3 separate regions of the Homo sapiens genome follow, and regions 2 and 3 are each linked to region 1. Evidence: promoter capture Hi-C in human tissues and cell types (Jung and others, 2019). All regions are on one chromosome and are shown on one strand. Each heading gives the region's core, a stretch centred on a gene start or on the middle of the fragment in contact. The rest is flanking DNA. Distances are from core to core; before and after follow the strand shown.

The links. Contacts are between HindIII fragments. The study calls those that stand out against the background at their distance.
Region 2: a fragment that was not itself captured here is called in contact with the fragment with the promoter of MKX in region 1 in 1 of the 25 tissues and cell types used here (spleen).
Region 3: a fragment that was not itself captured here is called in contact with the fragment with the promoter of MKX in region 1 in 2 of the 25 tissues and cell types used here (H1 embryonic stem cells and mesenchymal stem cells).

Annotation. Positions count from the first base shown.
Region 1 is chr10:27,743,342-27,747,572 of GRCh38, forward strand. It overlaps MKX (mohawk homeobox), which reads right to left and starts at 2,478. Exons shown (of 7, transcript NM_173576.3): 1 at 2,366-2,478; 2 at 1-156. The coding sequence starts at 74. It overlaps MKX-AS1 (MKX antisense RNA 1), which reads left to right and starts at 1,274. Exons shown (of 2, transcript NR_121652.1): 1 at 1,274-1,607. RefSeq lists an enhancer at 1,969-2,559. The HindIII fragment of the contact is 9,708 bases long and covers 1-4,171 here.
Region 2 is chr10:28,066,302-28,070,532 of GRCh38, forward strand. MPP7 (MAGUK p55 scaffold protein 7) reads right to left here. Exons shown (of 17, transcript NM_001318170.2): 13 at 3,471-3,551. Among named protein-coding and RNA genes, the nearest start is that of SNORD130, 5.0 kb to the right of the region's middle. The HindIII fragment of the contact is 3,355 bases long and covers 112-3,466 here.
Region 3 is chr10:28,041,720-28,045,950 of GRCh38, forward strand. No RefSeq gene overlaps it. Among named protein-coding and RNA genes, the nearest start is that of SNORD130, 30 kb to the right of the region's middle. The HindIII fragment of the contact is 5,301 bases long and covers 1-4,231 here.

The DNA of each region.
Region 1 (4,231 bases), core at 1,228-3,727:
CGCTCCCGCTCCGAGGCGCCTCCGTCCTCAAACAGCACCGCACCGCTGAGCTTGTTGAAGACGATGGTGTTCATGGTGTCGGTTGGTAGGGACGCGCGGCGCGGCCGCAGAGCCTCGGGGCTGGGCCGCCGGGAGCTCCGCAGCGGGGCTCGGCTTCTAGGAGAGGAAGGTGCATCTCGTTACTTACTGGCTGAGAGTGCTCAGACCCCTGCAGGTTCAGGGCCTTGAACTTGGCCGGGTCGCCGGGCTGCGGAGCCGAGGGGAGGAGCGGCGCCGCCGCAACTGGCAGGGACCCTGCGGCTCTCCCCAGTTGGCTACACGCCCCCGCCCCTGCAGGTTCCCCGGACAGGTACCTGCCCTCTTCCTTGCCTGGGCGATCGATCCCCCCAATCCCTTCACTCCCCAGAACTACAACCGGGAATCATTCACCCGCAGAGGCAAAGGAAACGAATTCCCAAACGAGCCTCTGGGTTTCAGTTTGAATCTGGGAGAGGCATACTCCGGACTGCGGAGCGCGACCGGCGTGAGGCCGCGCGTGGTTCTTCAATCACAGCAGAAGACTAAAGCCTCTAGGAACCCCAACTCGGGGCGTCAGGAGGGGTTGGATGGAAGGGAAGATTTGGGGTAATGTGCCAACCGTATCCACAAGACCCCCCAGCTCATGAGTCCCAGGCCATACCGGGATTTGGGGGATTTTCGTGTTTTCTAGATCGTGGATGGTTTGGTTGAAACCCCCGCATCTTCTGTCCGCCAAGGTCCCCCGGGGTGAGGTTGGGTTCAAGGACAGGAAAAAGTTAAGTGGCGTCAGGACGAAAGCACCACTTCTCCCCCTTCTCTCCCAGAATCTTCCTATCATCCCCCAACGCGCCCCGGGAAGTGCATGGTCCTAAGGTCCAAGGCGCCAGGACCCAGGTCCCCAGAGCCCTCAATCAGTGCCATTCTCTTCCGCAGCGCGGGTGTCAGCCGCGAGCTCGTAGCCCCTCGACACCCGCCTCTCTCTGGGGTCTCCGGGGACCCTTTCAGAGGCTGTAAAGGTGTCAGAAGCCCAAGGCAGGAGGCAGCTTGGTCGGCGCACCTCCCGGGCCACTGCTGCCACTGTCGGGGAGAGCCAGCAGCTCACCTCTGGGGTCGCGGAGGCCCTGAGCCTCTGCCTGCCGCGCACCGGCGTCAGGAGCAAGTCCGCGCGGCCGCGGAGCCGCAGAGTTACAGCCCCAAGGCGCGCGGCGGACTTCGCCCGCCCCATCTCCTCGCCTCGCGCCTCGGGACAGCTCCCGTTTCCTCCGAGCGGCCTCAGCTTCGCTGCCAGCGCCCCCTTTGCCCGTCCAGCCGCGGCATGGGCTGCTACTCCACTAACACACGCGCGCGCGCATACACACACACACACACACACACACACACACACACCCTTTGCCTCGCCAAGCGCCCACACTCGCCAACGCCCCCGCCCCGCCCTTCGGCCACCGCAGCAGAGGCCACGCGTGACATTTAGGACCACGCGTGACCACCGCGATCAAACGACGGCTACGGTCTGTGTTCGTAGGGAAGTGAAGTCAGACCTCTGCTGGATGTCGTGTGTCCCCTAGGACTGCGTCCTCCCGCGCAGACAGGTACGTGCCTGGGGTGTGCACATAGCCTCGGTGATAAGTGTCAAAGAGAATTTTCGTGCTTGCAGCCCCTGTTCTACAGTCAAGACTCGCGTTGGTGTTTTCTTTTAAAATCATGCCCTTAGGGATGTGTGTTCATGCTGCTTTATTTGTACAAGACACCCTTCCCCGGCCCGGCCTTCTCCGAGCCACCCCAGCGCGTCCTCCTAGATGCGACGACGTGTTTTTCCTAGCGAAGTCATCACGAGGTTAGCCACCTCGGACACTTCCCCGGCAGCCCCAAGCCCACGCAGAGATCGCAGACACAGACACCCGGCGCGCTGTAGGTCTGCAGGCAGCAGGCTCAGAGGCAAGCGATGGCAAAGGTCCGAGCGCTGTCCTGTCGCAAGGGGTCCGGGGGCGTGTGAACCACACTTGCTGACCCTCCCAGGACTCCCGCGCGCGGCCACCCGCGCCTCTTCTCAAATCACTTACCCCGATTCACTCCAGACTGTGGCCGGGGAGGTCACTCCCTGCAGAAGTGTCCCCCTCCCCCAACGCCGGCGAATAATTTTAAAGCAAAGGAGGCGCGGCCAGGTGGGCTCCCAAGCTCCGCGCAGACCCTTGGGCCAGCCTTGGCCGCTACCCGAGCGCCTCTCCACCAGACCTTGGAGGGAAGTTGGGGGAAGGGCGGGAGAGCACCGGCGCCCAGGGCGCAGGGGCCAGAGCGAGCCTGGCGTTCCGCCGCAGCCGGCTGAGACTCGGCGACGCGGGGGCTGTACCTGTGGCTGCGGGGCCGACGGCCGGCTGCAGGGCGGCTGGCTCTCCCGCCTCGAGACTAGGCGCACTCCCATCCCCGCCGCATGTTCTCCACGCGGGCTCCAGCGCGCTCACCACCGCCACCGCCGTCGTCTCGGCTTTATTTACCCAGCCCGGCGCGCGCCGCCCGGGAACAGGAATAGCGAGGCCTTCTCATGTTTCCTGACTGCCGGTCCCAGCCGGCGAACATCCTGCGGGCGCGGTATCCACGTTCCCGGGCGGGTGGAGAGGAAGCGTCCGCGCCCGCCCGGCCGCGGGGGCTGCTGTTAACCCCTAGCAGAGGAGCCGCTGCCGGGGAGCCCCGGGCCCGCCGAGTCCTCCGGAGCCGGGCGCGGCTCCCAGATCCGCCGGCCTTGCAGTCGTGGAGCAGACGGGGCTTTTCCCTTCGCACTTTAGGAGAGAAATTGGAGAAGCTGCCGGGAGCGCTCGGCTCCGGCTCCAGAAGCTGAGAGGCTGCGGTGCAAATCCCGTGTCTTAGCTGGCCCGATTGCCGGAAATTTCACTGCGCGTGGCTAGGCGGGAGAGGCCACTGTGACGCGCCCTGTATTTTCCTCTCGATTAGCTGGAGGGAAGTTAGAGCTCCGTTTTGCACCTACAGCCCTGGAGCGTATTGCGGGAAGTGCTAGTGCCCAGGAGCCTCTTTTCTGATGTCACTGGGCTTCTGGGGTCCTAGTTGTCTCAGTCAAAGCCAGGCACACATTCACCTCCGGGGCAAGGGCTGGTGAGGCTGCCCTCGCCGCTGGGTATAGGGATGGGGGAAAGCAAGGATGGGATGAGTTCAGCCCAGGTGGCCAACCCGCGGTGGCCCAAGTGCAGAAGAGGAAGCGCGCCCAAAGCCAAGGATCTGCACGCAGCAAAGGAGATGGAACTTAGAAGAATCACAAGCTGGGACACAGGGCAAAGAGAGAGAATGGCTACCAGATTCTCTGATTGATGATACTTTGCTTCCTAACATTACCGCAAATATAAGTAGCGAAAGCGGCGGTTTAGGTGCAACTGCAAGCTCAGAGCTTCTGGCAGCCCAGAAGATCCCCAAGGTGCCAACACGAAGCTGCCTGCGCTCTCGCCGAAGGCCCTGTGGTCCTAGCGAACTTTCGCCCTTTTTAAAGAACAAACTTAGATTTCCCCCCACCAAGCTTAAAGAAATAGCGCCATTTGTCCTTTTCCCCTCTAAATGCGGCTGGCCAGAGCCGGGGCAGTGGCCCACCTTAGCATCTTCTTCGTGTGTGTGTGTGTGTGTGCGCGTGTGTGTGTGTGTGTTTGTGTGTTGGGGGGGTCGCTAGAAGTGCTTAAAATATATACCAAAACTATTATTTTAAAGACTAATCACACCCTCAAATTTCATATGTGTCACCTCCCAAATTACGCGATAGCAAACCGTTGTGCAGGGGTACAATGTAAACCATAAAGGAAGGCCGGTTTACATTTTTGCGCACCAGGAAGATACAAAGTATCATTGGAGCACGTTCTGATGTCCTCGGTTCTCTTTTGTTATATAACTTGCTGTTGCAGCGCTTGCATCTTGTCTTTGGCGCTGCCCTTGTGGTGTGAGTTCAGTACAGGCTTCTGGTCTACAGACCTCGCTGTAGGAGCTTAAAGACAGGGGTAAATCCTAAGGTTTCAGCCATCAATTTTCAGCTAACAAATTTCACCACAGAAGCAGATCTAATTGATAATTCATAGGACAAAAGAGCCACCTTCTCTTTTATGGTCTCTATCAGTGGTGTTAGTCACCGGGAATTGTAATGAAATTAGCTCTAACATACCCCTGAAACATTTTTTGGTCAGCTGTCCCAGGTAAAGCAATAGGCATCATACAGTTACTTGCA
Region 2 (4,231 bases), core at 539-3,038, 320 kb after region 1:
TATTATTACATGGATAATTTTTAAACATTTCATATAGCTCATTCAGCCACTTTAGCTCGAGTACCTGATTTAGCATCCATTTAAATAATGTTTTTAAATTAAAGTAATTACAAATTCACAAGTAGTTACAAAAATAGTACAGACAGGTCCCATGTAAAATCACTCAGCTTCCTCTTGAAATATTTACATAACTATAGCACTTTAGGAAAACCAGAAAATCAGCAAACTACAGTTAAACTATTATTTCTTTTTAACATTTAAAGCCTGAGTATTATACAATAACTGATATATATACACATAAAAGTGTTTAACACCCCCATGTAGCCAGCACTCTAACAAGAAGCAGAAAATTGCTAGCACTCCAGAATCACCTCTTGAGTTCCTGTTCTAACCCAAATCCTTGAGATTTCTAACAGCACACATGAATGTTGCCTTTATTGCAATTATAAAAATGAAATCACGCTGCCTCATTCATTCTCTTGTGTCTGCCTCCTTTTGTTCAACACATTTGCGGGATTCATTCTTATTGTTGCATGTAGTTGAAGATTGTTCATTCTCATTGCTTTACAGTATTCCATTGTATGCATATACTATACTTTGTATGCATATACTATACTTTACTTCTCCATTTTACTTATTCATTCAAATGATAAGCATTTGAGTAGTTTCCAGTTCTGAGCTCTTATGAATAATGACTAAGAATAGCTCAGTACGTGTCTTTTGGTGAACGTACTTATGCATTTCCATTGGGTGTGCAGTAGGAGCGGAATTGCTGGGTCAAGGGTATGTGTTTGCTCAGCTTTAGTGGATACTGCTACTTAGTTTTCCAAAATGATTGTGTTAATTTACATTCCCATCAGCAATGTGCAGGAGTTCCTTTGCTCCATAACTTTTTCTGGTGGATATGTAATACATGCTTTCAAAAAGAGAATTATAGAAATAAACATCAAACAATACTGGTGGTATAAGCAAAGCAATCATTTTTCTCCAATATTCAAGATTCTGCCCAAAGTATTTTACAAAGCAAAACTACCTGAAATTCTAAAATTACTCTTAAAATATATTCTTCTTTAATTAATTAAATCACGCTGGTTTGATGCGGTATTTTCCAAACATGCTATAAATACAGATACTTGGGCATATCTTTTTATAGAACTCCATGAGAATCTTATCATCAGGCAAGCCAGTGAAACATTACTATATGAAGACATTTTGACATTGATATCTGTCTAAAAGTAAATCAGAGTGAAAAATAACTACTTTGGGGATTTCTTTGGAGAGTCCCAGTCCCACAACCTTTCTGTAATATTGTCAACTTCTATAACAACTTCAGAGGCAAACATTTAAACAGCTGGGTAAATTGAGGCTAAAGTATGTTTGTTGCCCTAGGTCCTTCCATAATATCACATCTCTCATAGGGAGTTACATGGGATAGATTGGCTTATGGATATTTCTCATCTTCAAAAGAAGTCAGTTTTGACTACTTACTGGAATACAACAAAGATAGTCTGTAGTTTTAAAGGATTGCTAGTGTTAATATAGGAGGAAGAACATGAGAACTGGTATCAAAAAAAACTTGGTTTCGAATCCAAGTGCACCTATCATCTATGGAACTCAAGTCAACATATCCTTTCTATCCCTATCTCCTTCTCTGTGAAATAGAGATAATATCAACCATCTTATACTTGACTGGGAAGGCTACAAAAATTAAGACAAACAAAGGAGATGAATACACAGTAGGAAGTTTAAAAATTCGTTTTTTTTTCTTTGTAATCTGTTTTTGCATCTTCTAGGTCTCTTCTATAATTGCTCACCTGTAAGCTTAAAAATTATTTTGTAAAATTTTCTAATAACTTATATATTGCAATTCAGCTTTTGTAATTGAGGTGAATAATTACAGGCAAAAAAAATGTCTAGTTCCACATTTTCATTAACTTTCATCTCTGTTGGTAGAAAGCAGCAGTCCTATAACTTGTGACTGAAAATGATTACAAGCAATAATTTAGAAAAATGTAAAAAGAAGGAACTTGAGGTCACAGAAAACTATAATTTTAAAATAAAGTTGAACTCTTCCAAAACTAGAGAACATCGCTAAGGGCAATATACAAGTAAATTTTTTAAAACAGTACTAAAACTGCTTGAAAAAAGCCAACATTTCAATTTAGCCTTTTAGACAGCTTTCTATTATCAACATATTAAGTAGTCAAATGGCCTTTATTCTGCAGATCAAAATGTTTCAAGCATCACATTTTATTTGTAAGAATGCCTATGAAAACCACTTTTATAAAAATAAATCTAATTCTGTGTACTGAAAAGAAGCTTACCATATTTAAACTATATAGCCATGAAAAGCCCATTTAACATCATCTGCCAATTACTACATATAAAAAGTAATTAAGAAAGGTTTATATTATAATTAAGTCTCCTTCAGCTCTCTGTGATTTGATTCTTCTAATCTTAAAGCTGGTGAAAAACTCTGGAAAACATTAGCACTTATTTTAGGAAACAGAATTGTTAGACTTTTATTTAGAAGAAAATTTGTAAGTAATAATTTGATGTCATATGTGTACTAAAATTCATCATAAAAACCTAAGAGTAGGGAAGCTGTGATTAACAAATATTCTGCCAAAAATCTGTGTAATTTAGCGCAAATCCTTTAACCATTTTTGCCTTGGTTTCCTCCTCTGTAACATGGGGATAATGTCACTATATACTTCTTGGGGCAGCTGGGAGGTCTAGATGAGTGAGTGCTCAGAACAGTGCTTGATACCATACGTGCTTGGTAAGTACTAAGCAATCATTATTAACGAGTACAAAAAGAAAATAGTTACAAAGAATGAAGAAGATCTATTTGATAGCACAACAGGGTCACTATAGTCAATAACAACTTAATTGTATATTTTAAAATAATGAGTGTAATTGAATTGTTTGTAACTTAAAGGATAAATGCTTGAGGGAATGGATACCACATTCTCCATGATGTGCTTATTTCAGCATTTCATGCCTGTATCAAAACACCTTGGCCAGGTGTGATGGTTCACGCCTGTAATCCCAGCACTTTGGGAGGCCGAGGCAGGTGGATCACAAGGTCAAGAGATCAAGACCATCCTGGCCAACATAGTGAAACCCTGTCTCTACTAAAAGTACAAAAAATAAGCTGGGTGTGGTGGCACGTGCCTGTACTCCCAGCTACTTGGGAGGCTGTGGCAGAAGAATTGCTTGAACCCAAGAGGCAGAGGTTGCAGTGAGCTGAGATTGCGCCACTGCACTCCAGCCTGGCAACAGAGTGAGACTCCATCTCAAAAAAACAAAACAAACAAAAAAAAAACTCACATGCCCCATAAATACATATACCTACCATGTACCCAAAAAATTTTAAAAACAAGTTAAAAATTTTTTAAAATAATTTTTTAAAAATTTAAAATTATCGTAAGTGTAGTCATAGGAACACTGAGTAGCGCAGAACTCACGGGGCACTGTCACGCCATAGTGCTGGGTGTCACTGATCAGCAGCTTTCGTTTCAGTTCATTCAGCCCTACTCCCACGGGACCTGAAAAACAGGGTAACAGAAATTCATTATTGGACAAAACACCACATAAACATTTCTGTAACTGACATGAGTCTCTAAGACAGACTGAAAACATGGATCCAGCTTTGCATCCTAAGTAAAGAGATTATTTTCTGTTAACTTGAACTTAAGAAAATGCTAGATTTCTTTTGTTGCTTTTTTACTTTTTCAATTGAAATCCTCACCTTTTCCTCAAAAAGGATAGAAAGATTTATGTTTAAATGAGATATGTTCTAGAGTATTTAGGCTGGATGTGGTGGCTCATGCCTGTAATTCCAGCACTTTGGGAGGCCGAGGTGGGCAGATCACGAGGTCAGGAGATTGAGACCATCCTGGCTAACACGGTGAAACCCCACCTCTACTGAAAATACAAAAAAAATTAGCCAGGCATGGTGGCGGGTGCCTGTAGTCCCAGCTACTCAGGAGGCTGAGGCAGGAGAATGGTGTGAACCCGGGAGGCGGAGCTTGCAGTGAGCCGAGATCGCGCCTCTGCACTCCAGCCTGGGTGACAGAGTGAGACTCCTCAAAAAAAGAGTATTTAAGTATTACCAAATAACAAGCTACCCACAAGAGCCTAAAAACATGTCTACCTAAGAAAATTCAATTGCATAATGCAGATAGTGAAAATGTCAATTTTAAATGTTTTTAAGTGTTAATAAAAC
Region 3 (4,231 bases), core at 569-3,068, 300 kb after region 1:
GGTAAGACAGCAAGGAGGAGGTGGAAGGTGAGATTAATAGTGGTGGTGTTTAGGATGAACAGAAGTGTAAGATGCTCAAAAGGAACATTAAGCTCATTGCAGTGGTTGAGGAAAGAAATGATGAACTTTTGCACAAAGGCAGCAGCAGAGAAGGTGGAGAGGAGAGGATGGAGCTAAAAGACTTCTCATAGGACTTGGTGGCTGAATGTTTGCAGTGAGTTAGTGTACTGGTTTTCTACTGCTGTGTAACACATGACCACAAACTTACCAGTTCAGAACAACATTCATTTTTGGCTCACAGTTCTGCAGGTCAGAAGTCTAGGCATGGCATGACTGAGTTCCCTGCTCAGGGTCTCACAAAGCTTAAGTCACGGTATGAGCAGGGCTTACTGCTCATCTCATTTGGAGCTCACGGTCTTCCTCCAAGCTCATGTGGACATTGGCAGAATTCAGTTTCTTGCAGCTGTGGGACTGAGATCCTAGCATTCTTGCTGAATGCCAGCAAGTGGGAGGATAAGGGGGGGTCTCAGCTCCTAGAGGCCACTTGCATTTCTTGCATGTGACCTCCTCCATCTTCAAAGCCAGCAACAGAGACATCTCCCTAACGTCAACTCTCTCTCATGCTTCCAATGTCTTTCTTTAGGAAAAGCCTGACCTCTTTTAAGGTCTCACCTGATTAGGCCAGGTTAATCTCCCTTTCTTAAGGTGGACAAATTTGGAAACTTAATTGCAGATGTAAAATTTCTTCCTAGCAGTATCTAGATTAGCGCTTGGTTAAAGAACTGGGAGAAGGTGTGTGTACATCACAGGAGGAGGATCCTGGAGGTCATCTCAGAATTTTGCAACCAAGGTAAAGGATAGGTAGTGCTTCAGTTAGACTGTGAGTGTTCTAGCTGGACACATTGGAGGGACAATGGAGCCCTTAGCAAAGCTTGAGAATACAGGAAGTGGAAGAGTTCTGGTGGGAAGGTGAGTTAAAATTTAGATTCGTGAAATACAGAGGTACAGAGAAAAAAAAATATTAATTGAGTAATTTTTGTATATAAGAAGTGCCTCTTGGCAGCCTACTTGGTAAGGGCTGAGCTCCAAAAATATTATTTTCAAGAATATAAAGTTATTGGTGGAAAAAAATAAATTGTTAAAGGGAAGTGATCTTTAGGGATATGGGGCTAAAAGAGGTATACTTTATAAAAAATATTTTGCTCAGCTCAGCTATCTAAAAGTTCTCAGGAATATCGTCGAACTCATAATGGGTTGTAAAATGTGCCTGAAAATTGGGGGTCAGATTTTTATTCCCTAATTCTTAAGAGAACCTAGGCCGGGCACGGTGGCTCATGCCTGTAATAACAGCACTTTGGGAGGCCAAGGGGGGCAGATCACCTGAGGTTGGGAGTCCGAGACCCTCCTGGCCAACATGGAGAAACCCCGTCTCTACTAAAAATACAAAATTAGCCGGGCATGGTGGCACATGCCTGTAATCCCAGCTACTTGGGAGGCTGAGGCAGAAGAATTGCTTGAACCTGGGAGGCGGAGGTTGCAGTGAACTGAGATCGCACCACTGCACTCCAGCCTGGGTGACAGAGCAAGACTCCATCTAAAAAAAAAAAAAGAGAGAGAGAGGCTGACCCCAAGTTTTCATTACAGTTGGTATTTCTACCTCATGGCAGGAAATGGCAGCCAGCTGGATAATGGCCTTGCATATTTCCATCCATTGAAGACCTCAACGTGAAAAGTTACAAGGTGATTTTCCTTCTTCCTCAAACCTACCCATAAGTCTAAAATATCAAGGTCACACAGCAGCAGCAGCACTTCCAGACTACTGAATGGTCTTGCATTGTCTAGTTGAATACATTTCCATGATTCCTCCCATGTTTCCATGAATTATCCAATTCCAGGTATTGCAGGCAGGAGAGAGGAAACCAATATAATGAAACATTTTCTGCATTCATCTTGCAGGCATAGAGACGAAAGGAAGATAAAGTTAAGGGCAAATAATTAGATGCAATCTGACCTGAAGCTAATGGAGATATAAATAGGGTGCTGGGGAGCTCCAAGGACAAAGATGAGGCTCAAAATCCTACCAGAGAATGGATTATAAAATATTTTTTAAAATATCAGGTTTGGGTTGTCTTATCTTGTTTTGTTTTGTAGATGTCTGGAAGCCAAACCTCTACATTGTTTTTCCTTTTCTTTTTTTTTTTCAGAATTTTTATCTCATTTAAAAAAACTTCATTAAGGTAAGTTTTGAGTACAAGAAACTTCAAAATATTTATTTTTAATTTTTCTTGAACTCTAGATCCTCATTTCCAAGTGAATCAGATTTCTTTTTTTATATTTTTGGAAACAAGGTCTTGCTCTGTCACCCAGGCTGGAGGACAGTGGCACAATCACAGCTCACTGCAACCTTGAACTCCTGTGCTCAAGCCATGCTCTTGCCTCAGCCTCTTGCACCATGAGTAAAATTCCCTGAAGCCCTCACCAGAAGCAGATGCTGGCACCATTGAAGATGGTATATACACCAGGTGTATATACACCATTAACAATTGGTTTGTACCTTTCCATACCATTTAATATGTATCTTTACACATGAGAATGTAACATCCTTCCACGATTTTTATGTACATTATAATATATATTATATAATATTAATATATAAATATATAATAATATTAACATATTATATATAACACATTACATATAGTGTACATATTGTGTATAATAATATATAATACATATATTTTTGATACATTACTTATAAGTAATATTATATATTGTATTATAATATATAATATTGTATACCTTTTTGCATTATATACCTTTTGCATTTTATATATATACCTTTTTGCATTAATAATATAATGCAAAAAAACCACCCCATATTTTAAAACAGTGATATAGTAGTCAAAACTATATTATACCAGTTTATTATTCCCTCACTTACAAGAGATTGATTTAAATTTTTCCCACAATAAATTCTACTGCGATTAACATTGCTACACAAATATGAGTGTGCATGGAAGCTGTTTGGTTCAGGGGCATGGCATGAGTATTATAACATTTGATGGAACTGCAAAATTGGCTACCAAAAATTATTTAGCAATTTGAAGCCCATCATTGATTATAATAATAGCTAATATCTACTGAACATTTACCCGATGCCAAACACTGTCCTAAGGGCTTTAGGTAGAGTATTTTAGTGAGCCCTATTGTATCAGTCTTATTATTACTTCTGTTTTATAGATTAGGAAATGAAAGTTCAAGAAGGTTAAGTAGTTTGCATTATGTAATAGCTAGGAAGTGGTATAGCAATGATTTGAACGTAAATCCTTCTTATTTAGTATTGTCCTAAGTTTTCCTGATTCTTTTACTTATTTTGCTTTTATTCATGCCTTCTTCATTCATGAATTTATTTTCAATGCTGAAGTGCATCTTTGAGCCTTTTCTTCCAGGAAGAATATAGGGGTGGTAAAAACATCTGAGCTTATTTACTGTTGCTCCTAATGGTAGTCTGAATGGTTACAGAACTCTAGGCTTAGACTTATTTTCCCCACAGTATATGATATGGGTTTTGTCATCTACTATCCTATTGCAGATGAGATGTTTGAGGCCTAGTAGATTTTGTATTTCTTTATAAGTAACATTTCTCTCTCCTCTCTCTCCTCTCCCCACCTCTATAACTATATACATATATATATGTACATACACACATATATATTAGTTCATTCTCACACTGCTATAAAGAAACACCTGAGACTGGGTAATTTATAAAAGAAAGAGGTTTAATTACTCACAGTTCCACAGGCTATACAGGAGGCATGGCTGGGGAGGCCTCAGGAAACTTACAATCATGGTGGAAGGGGAAGCAGGCACATCTTACATGACTGTAGGTGAGAGAGAGAGTGTGTGTGGAAGTGAAGGAGGAAGAGCCCCTTATAAAGCCATCAGATCTCCTGAGAACTCACTCATGATCACAAGAACAGCATGGGGGAAACTGCCCCCATGATCCAATCACCTCCTACCAGGTCTCTCCCTCAACACCTGGGGATTACAATTCAAGATGAGATTTGGGTGAGGACACAAAGCCTATCCATATCACTCTCTCTCTTTCTGTTTCTCTGAGCTTACAGGATTCTCTATTACTGGAGGTCACAAATTCCAGGAAGAAGTGTCTGGATCTTTTTGCAACACTGTAGTTGGTCAGTGAATGGAGATTTTATTTAAGTCTGAAGAT